Regions from separate parts of the Homo sapiens genome. Here region 1 is linked to region 2. The links are contacts of gene promoters, found by promoter capture Hi-C in human tissues and cell types (Jung and others, 2019). All regions are on one chromosome and are shown on one strand. The core of a region is centred on a gene start or on the middle of the fragment in contact, and the rest is flanking DNA. Distances in the headings are between cores, read along the strand shown. Region 1 overlaps PSD3 (pleckstrin and Sec7 domain containing 3). Region 2 holds the start of NAT2 (N-acetyltransferase 2).

What was found. Contacts are between HindIII fragments. The study calls those that stand out against the background at their distance.
Region 1: a contact is called between a fragment that was not itself captured here and the fragment with the promoter of NAT2 in region 2, in 1 of the 25 tissues and cell types used here (H1 embryonic stem cells).

What each region holds. Positions count from the first base shown.
Region 1 is chr8:18,678,999-18,686,307 of GRCh38, forward strand. All of the region lies in intron 9 of PSD3 (pleckstrin and Sec7 domain containing 3), which reads right to left. Among named protein-coding and RNA genes, the nearest start is that of PSD3-AS1, 38 kb to the right of the region's middle. RefSeq lists an enhancer at 32-594. The HindIII fragment of the contact is 5,096 bases long and covers 2,202-7,297 here.
Region 2 is chr8:18,388,633-18,396,387 of GRCh38, forward strand. It overlaps NAT2 (N-acetyltransferase 2), which reads left to right and starts at 2,650. Exons shown (of 2, transcript NM_000015.3): 1 at 2,650-2,713. The HindIII fragment of the contact is 11,595 bases long and covers 1-5,026 here.

The DNA.
Region 1 (7,309 bases), core at 3,500-5,999, 290 kb after region 2:
TTCAACTTAGGAATAACAAAAATATGTAAAGACATTTGCAAGAAAATTTTCATATTATGACTAAGAATTTTCTCCATTTTAAAATAGGCAGATATCAATGTCCTGTTTGACCAGAATCTCCTTCCCAGGCTCTAGCCTTAGTCTAAAGAGCAAAAGTGGTCTAGGAAGAAATGACAACAATCTGCAAGCCTGCCACCAAAACTTCAGGTCGCAAAGGGCCATTGTAATGATTTCTTCAGGTTTCTTTGTGTATAGCTTTAACTCACAGAGGAAGCAATGATTAGCAGTTATCTAACAATGCAAAGGAAACAGCAAGTGAAGCCTAAGCAGAATGGGGAGAATAGAGGTGATGGTGCCTTTCAACATTATTGCAACACGTTTTTAAAAAGCAATGGATTAGGCACTTAGCAGAGCAGAGGTTTGGAGCAAAGGACTTCCATTTTCCTTTAACACGTTTATGGTTAACATCTCCTAGTACAGGAAGAGGTTTATTCAGAATACATATAAAACTACCTTTGTTAAATCTAGCTCAGTCTTTAAGGTTCCTTCCACAGAGGAAATAACCCCACCAACCTCGGCAAGATTTCTAAAATTAACAGTGTTCAGAACAAAGATATCATTTTGTCAAAACCCTGCATTTTAGGGATGAGTCTTGGGGAGGTGAAGTAACTTGTCTAGGTGAACATTGCTACTTAGAAAGCAAAACCAGGGTAGCCCGCCAGGATGCGGCATCCTGACTGAGAAACCAACAGGCCAATGTTTCACTATGCACCAACCAAAGTACCAGTACTTTACTGGAAGTTCTTGAAATTTCGGTGTCACAGAAATTGATTTCTTTGCTATATCACTGAATAAAAGCTTTAAACGGTTCACTTGAATCAACATTATTAACTAGAGAATTCTTGATCTAATCTCTAGCATCATGCTTATTCCTCAAAAAAGGCCTCAAGGATTCAGCCACGCATGTTATATTAATCCACTCATGTGACATTCACCTACAACAACATAAAGAAACAACAGTTTGAGATTCCGCCTCATTTAAACGGTATCACGTAGTTTGGCAAGAGATGGGGAAGAAAAGAGTGTTTATCAACATGAACTTTTACAGATTTATGTTTTAAACCATAAGTTAAAAATTAGTACTAGAATAATTTATATTTGACAAATATTTAGACTCAGAGGAGGACTGTGGAAATGTCTGGGAGAACTGAGGCTTAAATCAACATTTTCTAATACTGCACATTCCAAATTCTGGAGTACAGTTGGCCCTCCATATCCATGGGTTTTGAAACCCCAAGGGTACCCGAATACCCGGGGCTGATTGTATTCTACTTTTAGGAAATTGTTTCTAAATTAGAAATCAATTAGAATCTAATTGATTCTAAAATGTTACTTCTGTCAAAGGCAGAGCAACCAGCTGGATCTGACAGCAGGAAGGTCTGCACTGCCCCCTCATGGCCAGAAGCCTTGCTAGTAACTCTTCCAATAACAGACACCCAATGAAGAGCTGAGCTCAGTCAGACTTCATTAATTTTAATAATGAATGCCGGTCTCCACGAAACACATGTTCTTCCAAAACATATTCAGATTTGCATCCTGCCCATATTATGTGCTTCAGAGGTTGATACAAACATTATTATCGAGAAAAAGACAAAGCCACACTCTCTCTAGAGGAAATGGTAAGATTTAAACACAGAATAAAGAAAAAAAGTCAACACGGAGAAGGGGGTTTTAAAGAAAATAACATCTATAAGCTGAATTTTAGTAGGTTAAATAATATTCTTCAGACGAGGTCAATATGAACCATAAAGTACTGGAAAATTCAATTTTCTTAATTTAAAATATTTAGACCAAGAAAAGCATTTAAGATATCTCACTAAAATTAAAAGCAAAACTTCTAATCCTTTCCACAGTCCTTTAACACTTTTTTTCAAATGAATATGAATAAATCAGAGAACAAGTGAGGACTACAGATAATTAATATTTGAATAAACCATTATGTTTTAATGGCCAAGAAAACAAGCTGGAAACATCAAAGATGAAAGTTTCAAAGAATACAAAACATGTAATTCCAACTCTGACAAGGAGAAGCAATTATTACACCTATTCTAGAAAGAGCCAGAGTTCTAGAAAGATAACATTAAATCCCAGGAGCGAACCACGAGTTAATGGTATCTTATTTTTTACAGGTTGGGAAGATGACATGAGAGGGTGGAGAGAGGTGGCAATGGGGATCTTCTAATCATCAAATTAGACATCCTGCATTTTGGATGAAAGAGTCAGATAATCAAAAATGCTGTTTACATGATTAGCAAGAAGAAATACCAGCTGGGTGCAGTAGCTCGTGCCTATCATCCCAATACTTTGGGAGGCAGAGGTGGAAGGACTGCTTGAGCCCAGGAGTTGGAGACCAACCTGGGCAACATACTGAGACATTGTTTCTGTTTCAAAAAAAAAAAAAAAAAAAAAAGAAGAGGAGGAAGAAGAAACACTGATTTAAGGGCTAAAAAATACTACTAGATACAAGTAAGATCAATGAAAATTCTGATTAAAATTGGAGGAAAACGTGTAACTGTGGATAAAAATGGGAGAAGTGATGCTTAAATCAACATTTTACACATGTCTATTATAGTATAATTAAGTTCAGTAATTTAGGGTACAAGCCTGTCATATTATTCAGTTTATTTCATTTAGGGAATATAAATGGCTAGTCAATGATTAGGGTCACTCTGATAGAATATTCTATTCTACTGATTTTCTCTTAGCTCTGGTGTTCAATTTTAAGCCACTAGATAATCCTAAAAATATCTCTTGTGAGATATTGGGAGCTTGGCTATATCCTTGAACACATATTCTGTAACTTAGGGACCACATATGCCTCAAAAAAATACTAATCATCTCTTAAAAACCGACTATAATCTTTAAGGTATCATGTGATGGCCTACTGACTACAGTTCTACCAGTGGCCTTTTATACTGTTAACTCCTGCGGCGTTTGCAATATTCAAAAAAAAAAAAAAAAAGTGCTTGGCCTTCTCTTCCACAGATACATATCAAGTAAAAGTACCTGTACTGTGTGACAAACACAGAGGACAGTAGAGAATCTTTTCATGTGGTATCTATGCTGGATTCCAACATTACACTACACAACCATAATTCTGGGTGAACCCACTAATATTACAATGCCTAAATTATCATGAGGATAGGTAGTAGGACTACAACAGAGTTAAGGATGATGAGCTCTTAATTTCCCATAGCCTCTGACTGCATACCATGGGTATACTCCACATTAAAACATCCAAAACAAAATCCAGAGACGTCTCTTAGTGCTCTTATAGAAGCCAATTTTATAGCCATGTTGAGAATTACATACATGCTCACATACATTTATTTAAGAATATGATAAACCATTCTGGTCTATTTCAGCAGGAGACCGCAGTCCTGACACCACAGGTGGTCTCATAACACTTTCAGTAGAAGCCAACACATCCCTATACAGGTCACATTAAAGGACTTTGAAGACACGTTTCTCTCTAAAGATAAAGCTTTTTAAAAAAACAGTGAGGAGTAAAAAGCCAGATTTGAAGACTTACTGGAGCCAGGCAATTTGCTAATGACGGAGGGGGTCAGACTCCACTATGTCATAATGTAAGGGGGTGAATAGGAAGCCAACATATTTCTTAAAGTCACACTAAGGTATTTTGCCACCTGTCCCCTGCCATATTTTGAGGGGAACCTGTTAATGCCAAAGTCTTTCAATAATGTTATGTCACACAGGGATGGGGAGGTAGCAGAGGAGGAGGGCAGTGGGGAGTGGTGGGAGGGTGAAGAAAGCCTGATGTCACTCTCAGTGGGTCTGGATATAACCCCGAGAAGGCTGAAATGACACTGAGATCCACCTCCTGACGCTCTCTCTGCACATTATCAAGCCCATGAATCTCCGTTATAATCATCTCCATCTCCAGACCTGGAGTTCTGTGATCCTATGATTCTATTATTCCATTTTTAAACCTGTGGAGTGGGAGTGTTTCTGAGTACCCTGCTCACACAGATGGTGGTGGGAAGAATCTCAAGAATATGTTGCATGTAGTAAATGCCCACTTCACTACGTAATCACTCCCTTCACATTTCACACGAACAAAGATTATATTATCTTCAAGACAGCTGCAAAAACACGAGTGGTTTCATGGCAGCATAGCATCAGCACATATATGTGTAAGGAACATGAAAGAAGAAATTTCTCTTCATTACATATGCCTGGGGCTAACCACTCTAAACCTGACATGAATGTAGTATAATAGGACCAGGTCATACTTGTACATCAGCTCCACAGACTGGGGGCTGGGGGAAGACCAGGGGAGGAAAGGAAAAAGGAACTAACTGAAAGATAAAATCATACACAATATCTCTGTATTCCTGATGTTCTAAAAATACTCCGCACTGAAAAATCATTTGTCAAGGCAACCTTTCTGAGACCAAAAACAAGATCGATGTGCCAAACAACAGTTTCCCACAGTCATCTCATTTTGAGCACGGCTTTCGCCCATCTCTTCCACAAACTGGCTCTTTACAAAACTGACCCATGCCACAGCATCTTTGTATCTGGAGTTCAGGTCCCATCCGTTTCACCTGATCGCACCTGATTCTCTTAGAACCATTTTATACTCCTCGTTACTTTCTCAGTCTATCACTGCACATTAGACACTGCCAAAGACTATCCAATTCTGTTGCCCTGCCACACAGCTGTCAATAAGGTTCAATGTGGTATTTCTTTACCTTGTTCTCCTTAGCAGAAAACTCTGAGGAGTTGGAAATTTTCATGGACTTTGACCTGTGAGACTGCCGCCGGATAGAATCCTCCCGGGAGTATTTCACGGAACCTGAGGTCCTCACCCGTACCTTGCTGGCACTCTGGACACTATTCACGCCAATCATTTTCGAAGGTCAACTAAGGAAGGGGTTTAGAGAAATAAAAAGGCACTTTCCAACCGTTCCAAGGCTCTCACGCTGGAGGAACTCTGCGGGGTTGTGCCTGAGCAGCTCCTGAGCGCCGTGATCCGCGTTAGCTTAAGAAGCACCAGGCTGCCTCCCCCAGCATCTTCAACTACCCTGTTTGCAGCGAGTCTGATTGTTCCAGGCACAGCTCACGTCACTGGCTGCAAAGAGGAAAAAAATGCAATCCACCCCTGCTACTCGTCTCTCTTTTCCACACACACACACACACACACACACACACACACACACACACACACACCCCATCATATTCACACACTGGAACGAATGGCAATTGGCCAGGCAAGCAATTCATTAACATTCCAAAAAGCAACACTATTTCTCTTGTGATATTTGTGAAGTAAGCTCATTAATGTCAACAACCAAATAGAGATACCACAAATAAAAGTCTCAAGTAATCTCCAAGGCACCATGTGGGGTGGGAACGTAGCTGAATTTCCACAAGGAAGAAAAAAAATATGGATGGACGTCAAAAGGCTCAATTAATTACAGGCTAGTGAAACGATGCGAGACACAAAGGCATCTCAATGATCAATAATTTTCCTTTCTTTCCCGTTTCAGGCCACACACTGTTTGACAGCAATTCAAATTATGTTGCCATTCTGAAGAATTAAATGTTTCTTATGACCTTAGACTACGACAGCCAGATATTTCAAGAGGAATTATGTCAGTGTGTACGGCAAATCCAGAATAAAGATGTTCTGTTACCTCTCTAGGAGACTGAGAAAATGACTGGGGGGTTAGCACAGGTTAACTTTCAATATGGCACAGAGTGAGAGCAATAAAGCTAACTCCGGGCAACAAGCAGCAAGCAGCTTTTCCAAAAGCCATCAATGTTCTGTCAGTGTACACAGCAATGTGCAAGCCTCTGAGTACGAATCACAAACTGGAGATTACTAGAAAACAAGACCATTTTAGCTCCTAACATATGAAGTGAGTTTTGAGCATACTACTCAGGATTGCGATGTCTCACTATCTGGCATCCCAGGGACAGAGGCTCAGCCACATAAGCGTGTTCTCCAGATAAAGGAGGCTTTCGTGTTAATATAAATAACAAAACTTAAACATTGTTTACAAAGACCACTCTGGGAAAAACGTCAGCCTCAATCCATCCCACCCCTCAGATTTAAACTTTTCCTTTACAACTCAAGAATGTATACACTTTTTTTTACAATGTACCAATGTTCAAATTTTGCAACGCACTGGTGTTCTTGAGCATTATTTGAGATAATTAATTTTTTAAAAAATGGTTTAAAGTAATTCTTAAACTTTAATTACTAAAGTTATGTTTTAATGTCAGGTAACTGTTTCCCTCTACTGTCAACAGGCCCAGCAGAGGGTGATGTTTGACCCTTGGGTTTTGTTGCATCCTCATGACAGGGGCTTTCTTCCTATATCCTTTACATTTTTTTTTTTTAACTTTTCATCTCCTATTTTTAAAGCACTTAGTGCTTCTATTGTGCTATAAAGAAGACGAAGACATTAATATTGGTAAAATGTTACCATCTAAAATAATAATAGATTATTTTTGGAATAGGTTTTGGAAGATCTTGGGGACTCTCCTGTCCTTTGAGGTACATTTTCCTCTCTTCTTAGGAAACTGAAGCTACCAAATAACTGTTTCTCAGAATTAAGAAAAATTCTGTAAAGTTACTATTTTACAAAGCATATTCCAAAGACATAAAAAGTGGTGTACTATAGCAGTAAAATAAAATCGATCATTTGGAATAGACTTAGTTCTAACTTAAGCAGACGACGAGTCTACAGGTAAAGATCTCCAGTTAACAAAAGTAAGCTTGAGGTGGAACCCAGTAAGAAACTAATACCATAATAAAGATAAAAATTCAAAATGTCCCGTGTAAAAGACATGAGCGCCTGCCTCTGTGTGGGGATAAAGACAGTGCACGGGCTTAAAAGAAACATGCCCTTTGGATATTTGTCAGTCATCATAATGAGGAGTTATAAACTATCTCCTGATGAACTTTCTTTTCTCCACCAAAATGGTTAGATTAAAAAACAAACAAACAAACAACAACAACAACAACAAAAACTAAAACCATATGGTAGGATGTACAGAAATGGAATCTGATACATGTCATTTCTGGGAGGTTTAGCAGAAGGACGCCATCTTTACCCAAAGACTGCCCAATTGACGTTACTCCTGTACTGTCTCCACTAATAACCACTTTCATCGATCTGTTTAACACCTAATACCTTACAGAAGCCACTTGTTCTCTTGTTTTCACTCTCAACATGACAATTCTGCGAAGTGGGTTGAGGTAATATTGCAATCCCCA
Region 2 (7,755 bases), core at 1,400-3,899:
TTATCAAACTTTAGAATCTTGACATAAAAGTGAGTTAGCACATGTGAGAATCTGTAAACTAGACATAACTAACTCTAATGCTTTTCTTTAAAGACACAAACAACATGCTTTCTACGTGTATAAGTCACAGTGAAGAAGGAGCTTTTCTTTATGGTATCACTGTTGTTGCCCAGCCCATCTCTGTATCTCTTACTTGTATGGTGAGGAAGTACTCAGTGACAGCTCAGGTATTCCCCAATTCTGCTCTTCTTCCACATAAAAAACTTTGATGAAGTCAAATTTTGGTTTGAAGGTCTTGATGACCACCCTGTGGGAGGCTGTAGGGTATTCTCAAGCTCTCTGACATCTCACACTCCCAGCCTCAGGTGTTTCTTCCCTTGGACACCAGGATCCTTGACTCTGGTCTTACTCTCCCTTAGTCACAAGTCTCCTCATCTCATAGTTTCCCATGACGGTTCTTGCTGGACATCCTCAAGGATCTCTGTCAAACTGACAATAATTAGAGGCAATCTCAGAATTACACATGTGCCAATCTGGATTGCAACATTTTAATTCCAGGTGTCAGGTTTCCAACAATCAAGGAGAAAAATGACCATAATCCATTGACAATTCCTCTCCCACACTCAGTCAAAAATGGTCCAGATCACAGTCCTACATGCTGGAATTATTTCCTCTGCTTCTCTCTCACCCCACCTTGGCCAAAGATTTTCTAGCAAGATCTGAATTTTAATCCATCTCTCTTCGCCTGTGTGTCCCGACTAATTTGGCAGAAGGAATTCTTTCTTAAAACCTTGCCATTTAATTCACAAATGGAAATGTGAAGGGTCAATAGGTATGTGAAGAACCTATTCACCCGTATTCACTGGGAATCAGAGAAGTGAAAATGAAAAGAACACTGAGCTATCATCTTAGATACACAAAACTGTCAAACATTTGAAGGTGGCTAACACCAAATGTCAATCAGGATATGAGGAAAGTAGGAATTCTTCTATACAAGAGGACAGAAATCTGGCAGTGCCAAAAGAAAAAGTACATCTATGATCTGCCCCTCCGCAGATCCCATTCCTAATACATATATCCCAGCGAGTTCTGCTAATCTGCAGAGGATGTCTAGAAACGCATTCATCACATCAGTGTTTATAATAACCAGGAGTAGGAGGCAATCAAATGTCCTTCACAAGTGGAACTGGTAAGTTAAAGAGACTTAGGTTGGGTTTCTCTAAAACCAGGCCACAAGACAAAGATTTGTATTCCAGTGGCTTATTTTGATTTAGGAGATGATTTAAGGAATCACCAGTGCGGGAGTATAACAGTGAACCCAAGACACCTTGAGATCAATAAAAAGGTGCATTGTTGGCAGGCTGCCTGCAAAGAAAGGGAGCATAATCCCAGTAGACAACACCAGGAGGCAGTTTTGTACATGCCTAAGAGTAATCCCACCTTAGCATGTAGAACACAAGGATATTTAGTCTCCAGTTCCCATCATGTGGGCTGAGTGGTGGTCCCAGGTGCTTTAATTTGTAGTCCATCTGCCCAAGCACAGGCCAAAAGAAAGCCTTCCCACAGAGTCCCGAGTTCATGTGGCAGCATGCCAGAGGTATGTACTGGAACAGTAGGTGCTAAAGGCAACAATTACATCATGAAAACTGCACATCTCACTCATATGTGGAATCTAAAAGTAATTTAGCTCATAGAAGTTAAGAGTAGAATAGTTAGAGTAGTAGAAAGTTAAGAGTTGTTACTGGAGAGAAAAGAGGGTATGGAAGCTAGAAAAAAAGCTAGAAGGAAGGATTTTGAATGTTCTCATGACAAAGAGATGATAAATGTTTGAGGTGACAGACATGCTAATTACCATGATTTGATCTTTACACAATGTCTGCATGTATCAGAACATCACACACTACCAAATAAATATATACAATTGTTATGTGTCAAAAAACATTATATACAATGTTTATATTTTATATTAATATTAATGTAAATAAAAATTTACACAAATCTTTTCATTAAATATGGTGTGGATAATTATATTATCTGATGATACCCATGCCACAGGCTAGGAGAAATAAAAATTTACATTAATGTTAATGTCAAAAAAGCAGAAACAAAGCCATATGATACATGTGACACTTATACCACATGCATAGAGTTATTTCAGACACATTGTGTGTTACCTTTGGGTAGAGAAGTGAATGAGAGTGAGGATGAGAGATGAAAAGAGGCAGAAGAAAAAGAGAGGCCTTATAGGAAGTGATGAAAGTGTGCCATAAACTGAGAGTATGACTAAAACCTTTCATCTTCCTCTTCTGCCGCTTCTAAGTTATTGGTTCTGCTGTTCCTTGACCTGTTTCAAGCTCTCACCTTCTATATCACACATGGGAAGTCTGGCATCAGACTTCCAGAGAGCAAGAACTAGGTGAAATACAAGGGCACAGCTCTCCTAGCCTGTGGCATGGGTATCATCAGATAATATAATTATCCACACCATTTTTAACAAAAAGATTTGCGTAAGAGATTCACAGAGGCAACCTGAGGCCCTGCAACTACATTTCCCAGAGATCCCTGAGGTGATCCTAACTAGACTCTGGTGTCAGGGTGATACGGAATTCCAGTGAGATCACTTCCCTTGCAGACTTTGGAAGGGAGAGCACTTTATTACAGACCTTGGAAGCAAGAGGATTGCATTCAGCCTAGTTCCTGGTTGCTGGCCAAAGTAAGTAGAACTTTGTAAGTAATTTGCAGTGTACTTTGAAAGTGGGGTATAAATTAAAAATAAAATCAAGTCCCCCTACTGACTGAATGGATCCCCTCTTGTCCTAGGCGACCCCAGAGAAACCTGGAAAACTAAATTCCAGGCCATAATGGAAAGGGAGGTCAGACACGCCTCATTATACACACTCCCTTTTGGAGTTCAGGCACAACTGACCAGCATTAACATTGAAACAGTGATCATAAGACTGTCAAAATGGACTGTTTGTGGGAATAAGATACCAAATTCCAATCTGACTCTGGTTTAGCATCACATGACAATAGCAGACCCTGAAGGAAATCAATATATTTAATCCCCAAAATATATTTCTTTGACACATATTGAAATGGTCTTGCAAAACCATCTTTTATGGGGAAATTTGCTGGTTTCTGGCTCTGCTCTGATTGAGGAGAGAATAAATGAGAGTCTGACACCTTAAAAATCTGAAAAGAGATATTTACCATCTGTTTTCTCTAAGGCTGCTAGCTGGAGGTTTCATCTACATGACATAAACCATGGTTCCCATAAGCCCTTTTAACTCAAGCATTTAATTGTACTGACCGCAAGTCTTTAGACAAAACTTAACTCTTCAACAAATTGCCAATCACAAAATCTTTGAATCCACCTTTGTCCTGTAAGCTCTCCTACTTCAATATGTCTGATTTTCAGGCAGAGCCAATGTATACCTTATGTGGGGGCCATAGGCTGTTGGCCCCCTAAAGCTTCACTAAAAGTCACTGTCATGTGACAGGTTGATTAATAGGGGAAAGGGAGTACAAATTTATTTAATGTATATACATGGTCTATTAGCCAGGACCCTTTAGAGGGCCAGAACTAATAGGATAGATGTATACATAAAGGGGAGTTTATTAAGGAGTAGTGAGTCACATGATCACAAGGTGACGTCCCACAGTAGGCCGTCTGCAAGCTGAGGAGCAAGGAAGCCAGTCCGAGTCCCAAAACCTCAAAAGTAGGGAAGCCGACAGTGCAGCCTTCAGTCTGTGGTCAAAGGTCCAGGAGTCCAAAGGCTGAAGAACTTGGAGTTTGATGTTTGAGGGCAGGAAGCATCCAGCACAGGAGAAAGATGTAGGCTGGGAGACTAAGCCAGTCTAGTCTTTCCACATTCTTCTGCCTACTTTCATTCTGGCTGTGCTGGCAGCTGATTAGATGGTGCCCACCCGGATTGAGGGTGGGCCTCCCTTTCTCAGTCCACTGATTCAAATGTTAATTTCCTTTGGCAACACCCTCACAGACACACCCAGGAACAATACTTTGAATCCTTCAATCCAATCAAGTTGACACTCAATATTAACCACCACACTTGGGAAACTTGAGAATGAAGACCCAACTTCCCAGTAAGTTACAGAAACTCATGTATTATTCCGAGGCCACAGTAAAGAGTGGAGACTCAAAGCATGGCCAGAAACAGGTAAATTAGTTTTAGTGGCAACACAGGTTAAGAGAGAGAGGAAGGAAGAAGCTCGGCTAGCAAAGGTGGCCTTGTTATGTAGACGAACCTTTTCTCAGAAGCAAAAGATGGTAAATGTTTCTATCCAGATCTTTAAAGGTGTCAGACTCTCAATCGCTCTGGATCCTGGGAAAGGCTTAGAAACAGGAGAGGGTATGGCTGCATTAATGGACATTGTCCACAGACGCAAATTTTCCTCAGTTAAGACAGTTTTGCAATGCCACTTCTGCTTGTTGGCCAGTGGAAACCATTTTTAAATATGTCAAAGAAATATATTTGAGGGTAAAATATTTTGATTTTCTTCAGTCCCCACTTTGAAATTTAAAACAAGTTTCACATACTAAAAGCCAAGGTAATAGCTTTGGGGAGATTTAAGTTAGAGGTGTTTAGATAGAGACAGTCATAGCAGTGGAAAAACACATTTGGGATAAATATAAATGAGCAAATTTAAATATATCATTCCATATTTTCTTTAGGCAGTCCCTTGGTTTTGAGGTGAGATCAGTTCAGTTAAATATCTACGTCCCATTCCAGGAGGTGGGACTGCAAATGGTTTAGGCCTTTAGACGTAATGTAGGCAATCAGATTTCTAGTAGGAGGCATTTCTGTAGAAACAGAAAAAAATAAATAAATAAATGTTACTATCTGGAGTAGTCTATATATCTAGAAAAGCTAGTCTATAGCTTTTTCTCTGAGGCGTCTTCATATTGCAGTGGCAATGTCCCAGATTTCCCTGGAAGTTCAAACCAGGTGTTCCACTGAACTTTCTGAGAAGGCCTCACATCAGCAGATATGCATGAAGGTTGTTTATAAGTTACTGTTATTTTCTCCTGATACCTTCAGTTTGCAAGACTTTAAGAAAACCCCAGTTTTAATTTCTAGTGAATTCAAGTAAGAAAAATGGGAGAAAACGTTGAAAATGTTACTTTGCAGACTTGTAGCCAGAAAAAAATTCAGGATTTGGTCTAACTTGTAAAAAATAATAAAAACTGAAAAAACAATGGGCAAGGCTAGAAGATACTAACAGATACACTATAGTTTTTGAAACATAGTATTTCTGCTTCCAGTTCTTCAATTTTATGAAAGACATAGTTTCATGCACATCCGTGTGAAGAGACCACCAAACAGACTCTGTGTGAGCAACATGGCTGTTTATTTCACCTGGGTGCAGGCGGGCTGAGTCCTAAAAGAGAGTCAGTGAAGGGAGATAAGGGTGGGGCCATTTTATAGGATTTGGATAGATAAAAGAAAAGTACAGTCAAAGGGGGGTTGTTCTCTGGCAGGCAGAGTGGGGGTCACAAGGTGCTCAGTAGGGGAGCTATTGAGCCAGGATGAGCCAGGAGAAGGAATTTCACAAGACAGTGTCATCAGTTAAGGCAGGAACAGGCCATTTTCCCATCTTTTGTGGTGGAATGTCATCAGTAAGGCAGGAACCGGCCATCTGGATGTGTACATGCAGGTCACGGGATATGATGGCTTAGCTTAGGCTCAGAGGCCTGACACACAGTAGAACTGATTTATTTGCAAAATAAGTTTTGTTACTATACTTGGTCTGATTTTTTGCATAAAGGGCAGCAAGAATAATTATTTACTATATAGGCTCCTTTTTAAAAAATGGCTTTGCTGGAACATTCTTTTTTGTAAAGAATCTCATATTAGACCTCTTAAAAGCATCCTGAGCCCAACCAAGGATTTATCTGTTTCTACGAGATACCTGTATGAATTAAGTGAATTCTCTCTCAAGGTCCCAAAATAAGTTGGGGTTCCTGGGCCTGTCAGAATGTGACCTTCTTTTACCCATTACAGGCCAGAAACCTGTAAAGGAACCTGTAAAGGAACTGCATAGACAAGCTGTGAGGCCAGTTTTATCCACAGGGCTATTATCAGCTTTATAAAGTCCCAATATCAATTTCTTAAAAATAGGGCATTCCAGTCAAATCCTTGATTTTTGTCTCCACTTGTGGCCTGTTACAAAACAAAACAGATTCTAACTGAATTTATGCAAATAATTATATTCCCATAAATTAGCAATAATCACTAAGAGTTTCCAAATTTCAGAGAAATCAGGCAGATAGAGGGAAATATGCTTCAAATTTTGCTCACAAGAGTATACTTTACACAAATATTAAAAGCTGTAAATGTCTAAAAAGAAAAAAATTTTGACTCTGAAAAACAAAAGTGGCAATGTTTCAACAAAACCCATAAAAAGATTATTTCAGTCTTCTATTATTTCAGTCCATGCAATTAACTCCTATTCTGTTAGATATTGGGTGAGCAATCTTCATGAACATATTAGTTCTCCATGAGAGTCCTGGGAGTTTTTTTTCTCTATACCAGTGGCACAATCTCCAAAGTTATCATAAAGCTTCATTCAAAAGCACCCCTTAGAGTCCTATAGCTAATTGCAAACCACCTTTTTAAAAGCACCAAAGTAGAACAACTGTCAATGACAGAAGTCTTAGGACAGCCATGGTCAAGGACACACTTAACAAGGAAATTTGGTTATTTCTGTGGCATATAACAATTTAACATAATAATTATAAATACTAATAACATATATAAAGACATCAGAATGATAGGAATATCACGCAATGTTGAAAAACATACTAGTAACAGGTTTAATATAAATGTAGAACAAATAAAGTTGAACACCATTTCATATTTGACAATGTTTCCTATATGATTTTAACATGCCAAATACACCGAATATGTCTGTTTTTGGCTTCAGGGGACTTAATATCAAAAAAGATAATGAGGTCAACAAGACTGAATTTAGAATTTGATTTTGGAAAGTTTGATTTTCTTCAGTCCCCACTTTGAAACTTAAAACAAGTTTCATATATTAAAAGCCAAGGTAATAGCTTTGGAGAGATTTGGGTTACGGGTATTTAGATAGAGACAGATATTGTGGTGGAAAAACAAATTACAATCACCAAACAGGTCATTGTAAATAAGTCATTCATTTAGGCAAAGTGATAACTCAAAGATTTCAAAAAGTAAAAACCTTCACTCTTTGAGAGAGAGGACTCACTTTCACAAACAATAAGACCTAATAAAGACAGCATGAGGCCAACTAAATTTGTCTCTCTTCCCCAACCCATCTTTTTTTTTTTTTTTTTGCAGTTTTCTCAAAAGGTAAGCAAAAATCTTTCACTATCTCTTAATATTAAAAGAAAATCTTATTCAAAGGAAATCTAAATTTTACCATTGCATAGCTTATTATTAATGCTAAAGTTAGCATTAATAAAATCTTACAAACAAATCTATTTAATTAGTTGTAACACAAGGTAGAGATTTTTATAAATCTTTTACAACATTTTATAATTTTCCATAAAAGAGCAGATTAGTATTCTAATAAAACCCTGATATTTTGACATAAGGGCCTAGATTCTGGCCCTGAATTAGTATGCTTTTTATTTTAAGGTTTAATTTATGCAAAAACTAAATAATCCCTTTCAAATTTTAGCCAGCTGGCTTATATATAGAATTCCTTTTACAAGATCAATGATCAATCTTTCATAAACCTTTAGTTTTGTCC